2 separate regions of the Homo sapiens genome follow, and region 2 is linked to region 1. The links are contacts of gene promoters, found by promoter capture Hi-C in blood cells and fetal thymus (Javierre and others, 2016). All regions are on one chromosome and are shown on one strand. Each heading gives the region's core, a stretch centred on a gene start or on the middle of the fragment in contact. The rest is flanking DNA. Distances are from core to core; before and after follow the strand shown.

Region 1 (5,352 bases), core at 2,396-4,895:
CTCAGTTTCCTACAGAGAAGGAAACTGAAACCTAGAAAGGTTAAGAAAGTTGACCGAGATCCCTCAGTTGTAAGACAGAGCATTCAACTTCTTTCTCTCTCCTCTCCTTCTGGTACTGTACTGGATATGGTGGACCTCATCAATTTCTCCCTGTATCTTTTACCTACTCTTTCCTATTTTCAATATCTCTGTGCCACATTTCAATTTTTTAAACCTATCTTTTGCATCTCTTCAGCTCTCTCATCTACAGTTTAGCACATTCTTTGACTTTTATCTAAATTTGTGACTGTATTATTTATTTCTAAAAGTTCTATCTGGTTACTTTTTGAATTTGTCTGATCTTTTTGATAGTGTCTCACTCTTCTTTCATATTTTCAAATCCTCCTTGTATCTTCTTGAATATTTGGTCATTGTTATTTTTCCACTCTCCATCTGATTATTGTATTGCAAGAAACTCTTGAGTATCTAATAGTGTCCTCTGGTTTGTCTGTGGACTCTTGAGTGTTTCTCTTCTGTTGTCTAATTTTGGGTTGTGAGCTCATCTTCCTCTGTGTTTATTTGTGGACATCCTGAATTGTCCAATTGAAGGTGTGTTCCTCCAGAAAAGTTTTGTAATAACTTCTGCCTGGCACCCCACGGGGATACAGTAGACAGAGGCCACTTTTTAAAAGTTATCACTTAGGGGCCTCCTAAAATATATAAGGAGCATAAATAAGACAAACTGCATGGTGCAAACCAATGGTTGTAAATTCTTCATATTTTTCTCACCACATGCAGAATACAAGCCAAGACAGACAAGTTTTCTTATTGTCTTCTTTTACCAGCACGAGATAGTAGATTGTCCCCTTCAATTGGAAAATACATTATTTCATACAGTTGTTCTTGTATTACTCCTTTGGTAAATTATACTTTTCCATTTTCATGGTTCTCTCTTTTTATAACTACAAGCATTAAATTTCCTAGCCTGAGATCCTTTAATGTTTTTTGTAATGCTTTTCTGTAAGGGCAATATGCTAGCTTTGTCATTGGAGGATCCAGAAATGTCAGTATGTAGGGTCTGTGCTTTATAATCATTCAGTTTTTCCAGAAAATAATTTTCTACTTTCTCCAGTTTTGTGCAGGTAGAGGTAGGATGGGGGAGCCAATGGCATGTTCTTGATTGTCTAAGTTCTTGAGAAAGGTTCAGAAAGGGCCCTGCAACATCTTCATTTCATATACAGTTTTCAATCCTGAGACACACTCACTTGCTGCAGTACCTGGGAACTTGAGACCAGAGAGTCTCTGGTTTAACTTCCCTAGAAAAGAAACCGCCAGTCTCCTTTGGGCAGCAGCAGATGAGGCAGATGTGGAGGACGGAAATTATGCCTGAGGAATGGGCATTTTTCAGGCTGCCAAGAAAAAGGATCCTGAGGATCAATCCCTTAATATACAGACTTTCAAATCTTCCTGCATTTTTAGCCCCGTATCTCTCCCCACCTTCCTTAGTCTATGGTTGTATTAGTTTCCTGATGCTGTTGTAACAAAGTACCACACACTGAGTGGCTTAAACAGCAGAAATTTTCTAACAATTCAGGAGACTAGAAATTTGAAATCAAGGTGTGGCAGGGTTGATTCTTTGTGAAGCTTCAAGAGACAGTCTGTTCCAGGCCTCTCTCCTGGCTGCTGATAGCCTTGAGTGTTCCCTGGCTTGGAGATGGTGCTCTCCCCATGTCTTCACGTTGCCTTTCTTCTATTTTGTCTGTCTCTGAATCCAAATTTCCCCTTTTGTAAGGACGCAATCATCTTGGATTAGATCTCACTCTAATGACTTCATTTTAATGTGATTACCTCTGTAAATACCCTATCTCCAAATAAGGTCCCATTCTGAGATACTGAGGTTAGGACTTCAGCATCTTTGGGGATGAGAGAGAACACAATTCAGCTATAACACTGCTGCCCCAAATCCTGGCACAGTAAATCAGCTCATTTCCTCATATTCATGCCTACGTGCACACCCCATCATACACAGACACACACACACATACATACACGTACAGAGACACAAACACAAATACATTGACACATACACATGCATGCAGGCTGTGTCAAAAAATGTACTCTGGATTTGTTTTAATTAGGTATGGTAAGACACACAGACACAAACATGATTGGCACAAAAGAAGAAGTTTATACTTAACAGATCCCTAGAAACAAGAAGCATGGTGTCTTGGTTCGTTTTCTGTTGTTGTAACAGAATACACAGACTGGGCAATTTATAATGAACAGAAATTTATTTTTCACAGTTCTGGTGGCTGGGAAGTCCAAGATCAAGGGGCTGGCATCCTGCAAGGGTCTTCTTGCTGCACCATCCTATGGTGCAAGGCAAGAAAACATGAGAGCAAGAAAGAGAAAGAGAGAAAACGAGGCCAAATTCATTCTTTTATAAGGAATCCACTCCTGCAATAATGGCATTAATGCATTTATGAGGGCAGAGCCCTACAGCCTAATTGCCTCTCATTAGGTGCCACCTCCCGACACCATTGTGTTAGGGATTAAGTTTCCAATACATGCTTTTGGGAAGACACATTCAAATCATAGAACATGGCATGCCACACAGGACCACATAGGGAAGAACCAATGTTGGTCAGAAGGCAGAACGGAGACAGCAGAGTACAGCACAGAGCCTTTACTAGGGTTTTCCCAGGAAGGAATAGGTGAAGCAGGGTAGGGTGCTGCATAAATTTAGGAGTGGATAGCTTGAATAATCGTGGTGTTCTCTGGGCTATAGTGGTCTGGTATCTGGACCTGGGGTGACTTAGGACAGGAGGAATATTGGCTTAGTGTGTGAGAGTTTGATAATGGAGATGGTTGTGTGGGCTCTGGATTGGTTGGCTTGTATATCAAAGGAGACTTTGCATATTTCAGGGGAATCATTTGCTATCTCTAGAAATTAGCTAACATAGGAGAATCAGTTTCTCCAGGATCAAGGCTCCAAATGCCAGAGCATCAAGAATACAGAAAATAAGAAGATACAGTCAATACACATACACACAAACATACACACACCATACACACAGACACAAATACACACAAACACATGTGCACATACACACTAGTCTATTGGAGTGTGTTTCCTTGGCTCCATTCATTCTATTACTCTTCCAGCTACTTTGCCTCCTACCTCTCCCTCTTTTTTTTTTTCCAACTTTTTTGAGCCATAACATTTATATCCGTTTTCAGGAATTGCAGTGGGATTCAGAGAATAGGCAAAGATTAAACTTGTGCGTTCAACCTTCCACTTTTAACTGGAAAACACTCAAGTGCAACATTTGTTGGTACTCTGCAGCACCTCCACAGAGCTTTTGCTGCTGCCACGTTAGACAGCTTCACCATGTAATGACGACCTTTTAAGATTCTAAATCCCCCCACCTCTGAGCCTGTTCTTCATTGGAAATGCAAGACGACCGGATGACATGAGGGAGGGGCAGCTCTTAAGGCTTGACCTAATTTCCAGTGCTGCTCATGTTGATTTCTCTCCGTCCTTCTACTGCAGGCTGTGCGTCTCTGCTTACCCAGCATGCTTGTACTCCACTACTGGAAGTAGCCTGTCACTTTAAAGGAAAAAAAAAAAAGCTACCGAGTGACCTTCCTTAGGAACGGGTTGCTAAGCTGGTGTTTTTGCTCCAAGACATGGCTGCAGCTTCCCAGGGAGGAGCCCAGGGGCATCTCCAACACTCAGCCTTTCCCTCCGGACCCTTTTAAAAGATTCAACAGCACCGTCTCTCTCCACTTCCATCCTAGAATGCAGAATCTGCAAAGTGCCTTTTGTAAAGTTTCTTAAGGTAAATCAGTCCCTAACCGGACTTTAGGCTGCAACAGTGATTTCCTGTTTTCAGTTACCCGGCTTGAAGTTCAGCCTCTCCAGGATACCGTGAGACTGGATTTAATGAATTGTAAATTTAGGGGCTCTCATCGTTATTTATGTTTTTACTTTCTGAAATGGGAACATAGACCATTACTTGGCAGCTTTGATTTGAGCTGCTATCTGGTATCTGGTTTGCAGGAAATGTAAGTCCAGTTCATCACAAGTCCTGAGTGAAAATGCTCTCTGACCAAAGCTCTGTGAAACATTAGCTGCGTGTTGCATTTATGGGCCTTTTAGTTCAAACTGGCTTAAGGGGAGAAGCACTAATTACTGCAAAATACACTTTTCTTGGTATGAGACAGAGAAAGGGCTACTAACCACAGTGCTAAGAGTTGCTGTGCTTTCCAAAGACTTCAAGAAAATGTACTGGCTACAACTTAAGCTGATTGTTTGTTTCCCTTCATTGCAAAGAGGTGGTATGAAAAGCTAATAAAGTCAAATAAGAAATATGTTTGCTACTGCATTTTCATATAACCTTTTCTGCAAATAAATTCAGCACCAGCATGAAATCTCTCTCTCTCTCTCTCTCTCTCTCTCTCTCTCTCTCTCTATATATATATATATATATATATATATATATATATATATATATATCCTAGAGCTCACTTATAGAGTCATTCATTCAAACATTTATGGAGCATCAACAATGCACCAGGCAATGAATTTAAGTTTAGAGTGTGCAAACATAAATTAGACTAGGTCAGAAGCTCAGAATTTGCTGGGAAAACAGACCTATAAACACATGATAAGAGTACAATGAGCTAAGTGCCATAAGAGATTTATAAAAACACTGAGAGGACAGTGGGATGACATCCAGGGAGGGGCTTCCAGTACTTAGCACATCATGTAAATGCACTGGTCATATATCACGTAACACAGCTCAAATATGGTACTCATGTGTACTCTTCAAGGCCAGTGTACATTATATCGAGCTGATTAAATGATTCTATAAAGCTATTGGTCACTAACCTTATGCTAAGGGAAACTGCAGCTGGAATAACTTGTAGAATAAGATAATGTATTCCAAAACAATGTATGTGGCACCTCCCCAGGTGTCCAAGCTCCAGGAGGGAACAGAAAAATGTTCTCAGGGTGTGAGGAAGAAAATACTCATGGGTAGAAGTGCAGGAGGTTTCAGAAGCACCATAAATGGAAACAGCAAGGCAACTGCCCTGGGCCTGGCTGAAGGGAGGGAGACATGAAACATGAGTTATGGTAGCTGGGGGTTGAAGATTGGAGCTGAAGGTGGGTGGGCTTGAACATCACCTAAGGTCTTTCTCATGACTCCTCTTCTATCCCCCAAGCTCTTTTCCCTCCTCATTCCTTTTTTCCACTTTCCCTCCCCACAATCACTTTTTCTTAGTAACAAAACCTACCAATATTGAGAGCCCAGCCTGTGCTAGGCATTTTACTACACACATTTCATCATTTAGCCCTTATAAATTAAT
Region 2 (5,465 bases), core at 469-2,968, 230 kb after region 1:
ACACAGGAACAAAACTTGAAAGAATTAAAAATGCTTTCCTCTGGAAAGTGGATTTAACTTAAGGAGGAACTGAACAGGAGAATGCGGGTTTTGGTTACAGAAAAAAAGAGATTCAAATAAAACAGTAGAGAACACCTGTTCTGTCCTCCCTTGTGTTTATCAAGTGCTTGCCAGGCACTCAAAGTTCATTGCTGTCATTATTGTAAGAATTGAGGACTTGGGCCTCCACGTGGTATTCTATTAATACTGGCTCTTTTTTTTTTTTTTTTTGAGACGGAGTCTCACTCTGTTGCCCAGACTGGAGTGCAGTGGCCCGATCTCGGCTCACTGCGAGCTCTGCCTCCTGGGTTCACGCCGTTTTCCCGCCTCAGCCTCCCGAGTAGCTGGGACAACAGGCGCCCGCCACCGCGCCTGGCTAATCTTTTGTATTTTTAGTAGAGACGGGGTTTCACCGTGTTAGCAAGGATGGTCTCGATCTCTTGACCTCGTGATCCACCCGCCTCGGCCTCCCAAAGTGCTGGGATTACAGGTGTGAGCCACCGCGCCCGGCCAATCCTGGCTCTCTTAAACTGAACATCTCCAGGATTTTGCATCTATCAGGAAGGGATATTGTGACCTCTGACAAGTTACAGTCGGCGGTAGGTATCCATGGAGAATTGGTTCCAGGAACCTCCTGGATACCAAAATCCACAGATGCTCAAGGCCCTTATATTAAATGGTGTAGTATACAGTATTTGCACATCCTCTTCTATAATTCACGTCATCTCCAGATTCCTTGTAATATCAAGTACTATGTAATTGTTACATAAGTAGTTGTTACATTGGATTATTTAGGGAATGATGACAAGGAAAAAAAAGTCCGTACATGTTCCGTACAGATGCAAGCATTCTTTTTTTCCTCAAATGTTTCTCATCCGTGGTTAGCTGAATTTGGATGATGAATCCGCAAATCTGGAGGGCCGAACATGCTTAACTTCCCTGAGTTTATCCATTGCTAAAGCGAGAGAAATTACAAACTTAGCTAGGAAGGGTGTTGCGGAAAGTAATTAATATTATACTTGCAAAGTGCTTGGCACGTTGTTGTGGTTATTATTTCCTGAAAACAAACAAACACCACTTATTGGTTGGTGTGAAAGAGGGCATCTGTCAAAGTTGTCGTCCTTTGGAGCCAGAAAAGTATTTCTTCTGATGATGACTGACCTCTCCTCACCTCTCCTTCAACCTTGCGGCTTCTTTGGGGCTCCCTCCCCGTGGACAGCGGTCAAGATTAGCCTGGGCCACAGTGCACTGGTCCTGTCCTGGGTGATGTTCCAAGCTCACTCTTTTTTAATTTTATTTATTTATTAATTTTTTTTTTAGACAGAGTCTCACTCTGTCGCCCAGGGCTGGAGTGCAGTGGTGCAATCACTGCTCGCTGCAGCCTCGATCCCCTGGGGTCAAGCCTCCTCACATCTCACCTCGCAGGTAGCTGAGACTACAGATGCGCACCACCAGGACCAGCTAAGTTTTGTATTTTTTTGTAGAGAGGAGGTTTCTCACCTGTATGTTACTCAGGTTTGTCTCGAACTCCTATACTCAAGCGATCCGCCCGTCTAGGCCTCTCAAAGTGCTGGGATTACAGGCATGAGCCGCCGCGCCCCGCCCCACGCTCAGTCTTGAAATTGTCTGGAACGGGAAACGGCAAACAGCGAGATATCCGAGCGAGAGTCCCGCCCTGCATCAGTTTGCGGAACCGCCTTGGTAGAAGGAGAGAAGGGGAGTGGAGGAAGCACGGGACTGGAGGGACCAAAGTTCCCCGATGGCGGCCCAGGGGTGCGCGGCATCGCGGCTGCTCCAGCTGCTGCTGCAGCTTCTGCTTCTACTGTTGCTGCTGGCGGCGGGCGGGGCGCGCGCGCGGTGGCGCGGGGAGGGCACCAGCGCACACTTGCGGGACATCTTCCTGGGCCGCTGCGCCGAGTACCGCGCACTGCTGAGTCCCGAGCAGCGGTGAGGCAGTCGGCCGGGTGGAAGGGGAGCCGGAAAGAGGCAACGGTGGGGAGGGCCTGGGGAGGGGAAAACTGGCGCTAAAGTTCGGGGTGAGGGGGCAATGAGAGAGGCCTTGAGGGGAGAGGTGAGTGTGGAGACAGCGATGGTCCTGAACGATGGGGGCGAGTGAGGAGGGGGCTGTGAAGTGTGTCTGCAGGTGAGGGGTGCGCTGTGCGGGGTCTAGAGATGAGTGTGTGTGTGTGCGCGCACACACACACTGTAGAGGTGAGGGGTGTGTGCGTGTGTTCTAGAGGTGAGGGGGGTGTGTGTGTGCGCGCGCTCTAGAGGTGGGAGGTGTGTGTGTGCTCTAGAGGTGGATGTGTGTGTGTGTGCTCTAGAGGTGGGGGTGTGTGTGTGTGTGTGTGCTCTAGAGGTGAGGGGTGTGTGTGTGTGTTCTAAAGGTGAGATGTGTGTGTGTGTTCTAGAGGTAAGGGGTGTGTGTGTTCCAGAGGTGAGGTGTCTGTATGTGTGTTCTAGAGGTGAGGGGTGTGTGCATGTGTGTTCTAGAGGTGAAGGGGGTGTGTGTGCGTGCGCTCTAGAGGTGAGGGGTGTGTGTATTCTAGAGGTGAGGGGTGTGTGTGTTCTAGAAGTGAGGGGTGTGTGTGTTCTGGAGGTGAGATGTGTGTGTGTGTGTTCTAGAGGTGAGGGGTGCGTGCATGTGTTCTAGAGGTGTGTGTGTATCTGTGTTCTAGAGGTGAGGGGTGTGTGTGTGTAGTCTAGAGGTGACAGGTGTGTGTGTGTGGTCTATAGGTGAGGGATGTGTGTGTGGTCTAGAGGTGAGGGATGTGTGTGTGGTCTAGAGGTGAGGGGTGTGTGTGTTCTAGAGGTGAGGGGGTGTATGTGTATTCTAGAGCTGAGGAGAGTGTGTGTTCTAGAGATGAGGTGTGTATGTGTGTTCTAGAGGTGAGGGGTGTGTGTGTGTTCTGGAGTTGAGGGGTGTGTGTTCTAGAGGTGAGATGTGTGTGTTCTAGAGATGATGGGTGTGTGTGTTCTAGAAGTGAGAGGTGTGTGTGTTCTAGAGGTAAGGGATGTGTGTGTGTGTGTGTTCTAGAGGTGAGTTGTGTGTGTGTTCTAGAGGTGAGATGTGTGTGTGTTTGTTCTAGAGGTGAGGGGTGTGTGTGTGTAGTCTAGAGGTGACAGGTGTGTGTGTGTGGTCTATAGGTGAGGGATGTGTGTGTGGTCTAGAGGTGAGGGATGTGTGTGTGGTCTAGAGGTGAGAGGTGTGTGTGAGTGTGAAGGAGGGTGGAGAGGTATCCCTCTAGAAGTGAGGGTGGGGTAGAGGTGAACTGGGTAACAGCCCATTGCCACCCAGCAGATGTTTAGTCTGAATACTCAGAACCCAGAATGTGATCTCAGGTTGGAATTCCTTGAGTCCAGTCCTTCCAGAATTCAAATTTCAGATCCCCTAAATCTGGAGGATTTCTGAAGTTTGGGTCTTTCTTGCCAGTGCTGCATTTCTTACTGATTTTTGTTCCTTCTGTGGCCCCCCTTTTCTTATGTTTGTGATGTCTTTCTTGTGCTGATCATTTTTATTGTCGCACATTTCAGGCAAATAAGAAACAGCAGAGAACCACCTGTGTTACACACCACCCAGTATGAGAAACAAAGTTACAAATGCTATGGGAAATATTTTTTGAAAACTAGCATGGACCTCAAGAGGGGCTTGCACTGGAGGGTGCACCTGCTTTGCCAGAGGTGGAAGCCTTTTGCAGCATTGGGCCTCCCTCCTAACACTACACATCCTGCTGGCTGGCCTGGCCTCACCTGGTCCCCGAGCTCCACACTGGAACTGGACTATGAGACTGGCCCCACCGTTAGGTCTAAATGAAGAGGCACCTGCTGTATAGTTGACTGAATTTGTCACCTCCTGCTCGGTGCCATTTCTGCTTGTCTCCGTGAGCCTGGGGCAAGGCTGTATTCCTTAGCTCTGAGAAATCTGTGCAGTGCCTTCAGAGAGACAATTCCAGTGTCAGATTTCTGAATCTGTCACCTAAGCCATGACAATTCGTTGTCTTTTTTGTAAGCCTACTTCTGCAGTTACTATATGAAAAATCTCTTGTAAAGCTCTTAGACAAATGGGCATACTTCACAACACATTATGATGTGCATGTGTGTGTTCTTCCCAACTTGTACTTTTGCACAGGAACAAGAACTGCACAGCCATCTGGGAAGCCTTTAAAGTGGCGCTGGACAAGGATCCCTGCTCCGTGCTGCCCTCAGACTATGACCTTTTTATTAACTTGTCCAGGCACTCTATTCCCAGAGATAAGGTAACACCACAACCATCTTGGGTAAAACTGTGTTCTCTGTCTCTACAGAAATGGATGGTGCATGGGCCAGGTTGACATTAGCTGTCCCCTGCATCCTGCAATGTCACAGAAACATCAGGCAGCACACATAATGTGTGTGCTGAGCTCTCTGTGGGAAGCTAGCTTTGTTTCTGTATTAGTCCGTTGTCACATTGCTATAAAGAAATGCCTGAGACTGGGTAATTTACAAAGAAAAGAGGTTTAACTGGTTCACAGTTCCACAGGCTGTACAGGAAGAATGGCAACATCTACTTCTGGGAGGCCTCTGGGAGCTTTTACTTCAGCAGAAGGCAAAGTGGGAGCAGGTGTCTTACATGGCACGAGCAGGACCAAGGGCAGAGGGAGGTGCCACAGGCTTGTAAACAACTGGATCTTCTGAGAACTCCCTCAGGAGAACAGCAGCAAAGGGGGAAATCCACCCCCATAATCCAATCACCTCACACCAGGCCCCACCTCCAACATAGGGGATTACAATTTTACAAGAGACACAAATCCAAATCATATCAGTTTCCAATAGTGATTGTAGATCTCCCGCTGGTTGTGGGCAGAAGAAAATTTCCTAAGTTAGCAAGTTAGTGTGAGAATCAACATGAGGACATCAGGACATGGCCATACCTGTCACACTGGGCCTCCACATCTGGCCAGTTCTAAATAACCTTCATCCTAACTGGCCCAATGGCCTGAACCTTGAGTAATTCAGAAAACTCTCAATCTCAGTATCCTCCCGGGAGACCAGTCTCTCCATTTAACGGGTCTTAAGATTATATTTATTTAGTACCAGTTTATTTAAGAAAACCACATATCTATATTCTGTATACACTCTCAGGTCTAATAAAATGAAAATAATGAGAAAATTTCCATAAAACCCTTGCTTAAAACAATACCTCAAGTTTAAGGAATGCTAGACACCATTTTTGTTTCTGTGACATAAACATTGTTAACCTGATTTTTTCCATTGTGTGTTATTTGTAAAGGCAAGTAAATGGAACTGTGAGGTTCAAAGATAGAATAGACTGAAAACATGATTTTTGAGTATATGCTGTCTTTTGAACCTTGCTGCCCTCCTGTCACTAAAAGTGGGGAAGCTGACTTTTTAACCTTCTGTTTCATAGATTCGGTGCTAGTTGATGA

The links. The method cuts DNA at HindIII sites, captures the fragments that hold promoters and counts their contacts. A CHiCAGO score of 5 or more calls a contact.
Region 2: the fragment with the promoter of BST1 here is called in contact with the fragment with the promoter of CC2D2A in region 1 in 14 of 17 cell types (naive CD8 T cells, non-activated CD4 T cells, M1 macrophages and 11 more); the score reaches 10.9 in naive CD8 T cells.

Annotation. Positions count from the first base shown.
Region 1 is chr4:15,466,237-15,471,588 of GRCh38, forward strand. It overlaps CC2D2A (coiled-coil and C2 domain containing 2A), which reads left to right and starts at 3,646. Exons shown (of 37, transcript NM_001378615.1): 1 at 3,646-3,821. The HindIII fragment of the contact is 6,808 bases long and covers 1,622-5,352 here.
Region 2 is chr4:15,701,347-15,706,811 of GRCh38, forward strand. It overlaps BST1 (bone marrow stromal cell antigen 1), which reads left to right and starts at 1,719. Exons shown (of 9, transcript NM_004334.3): 1 at 1,719-1,986; 2 at 4,169-4,295. The coding sequence starts at 1,799. RefSeq lists a silencer at 1,658-1,737. The HindIII fragment of the contact is 13,056 bases long and covers 1-5,465 here.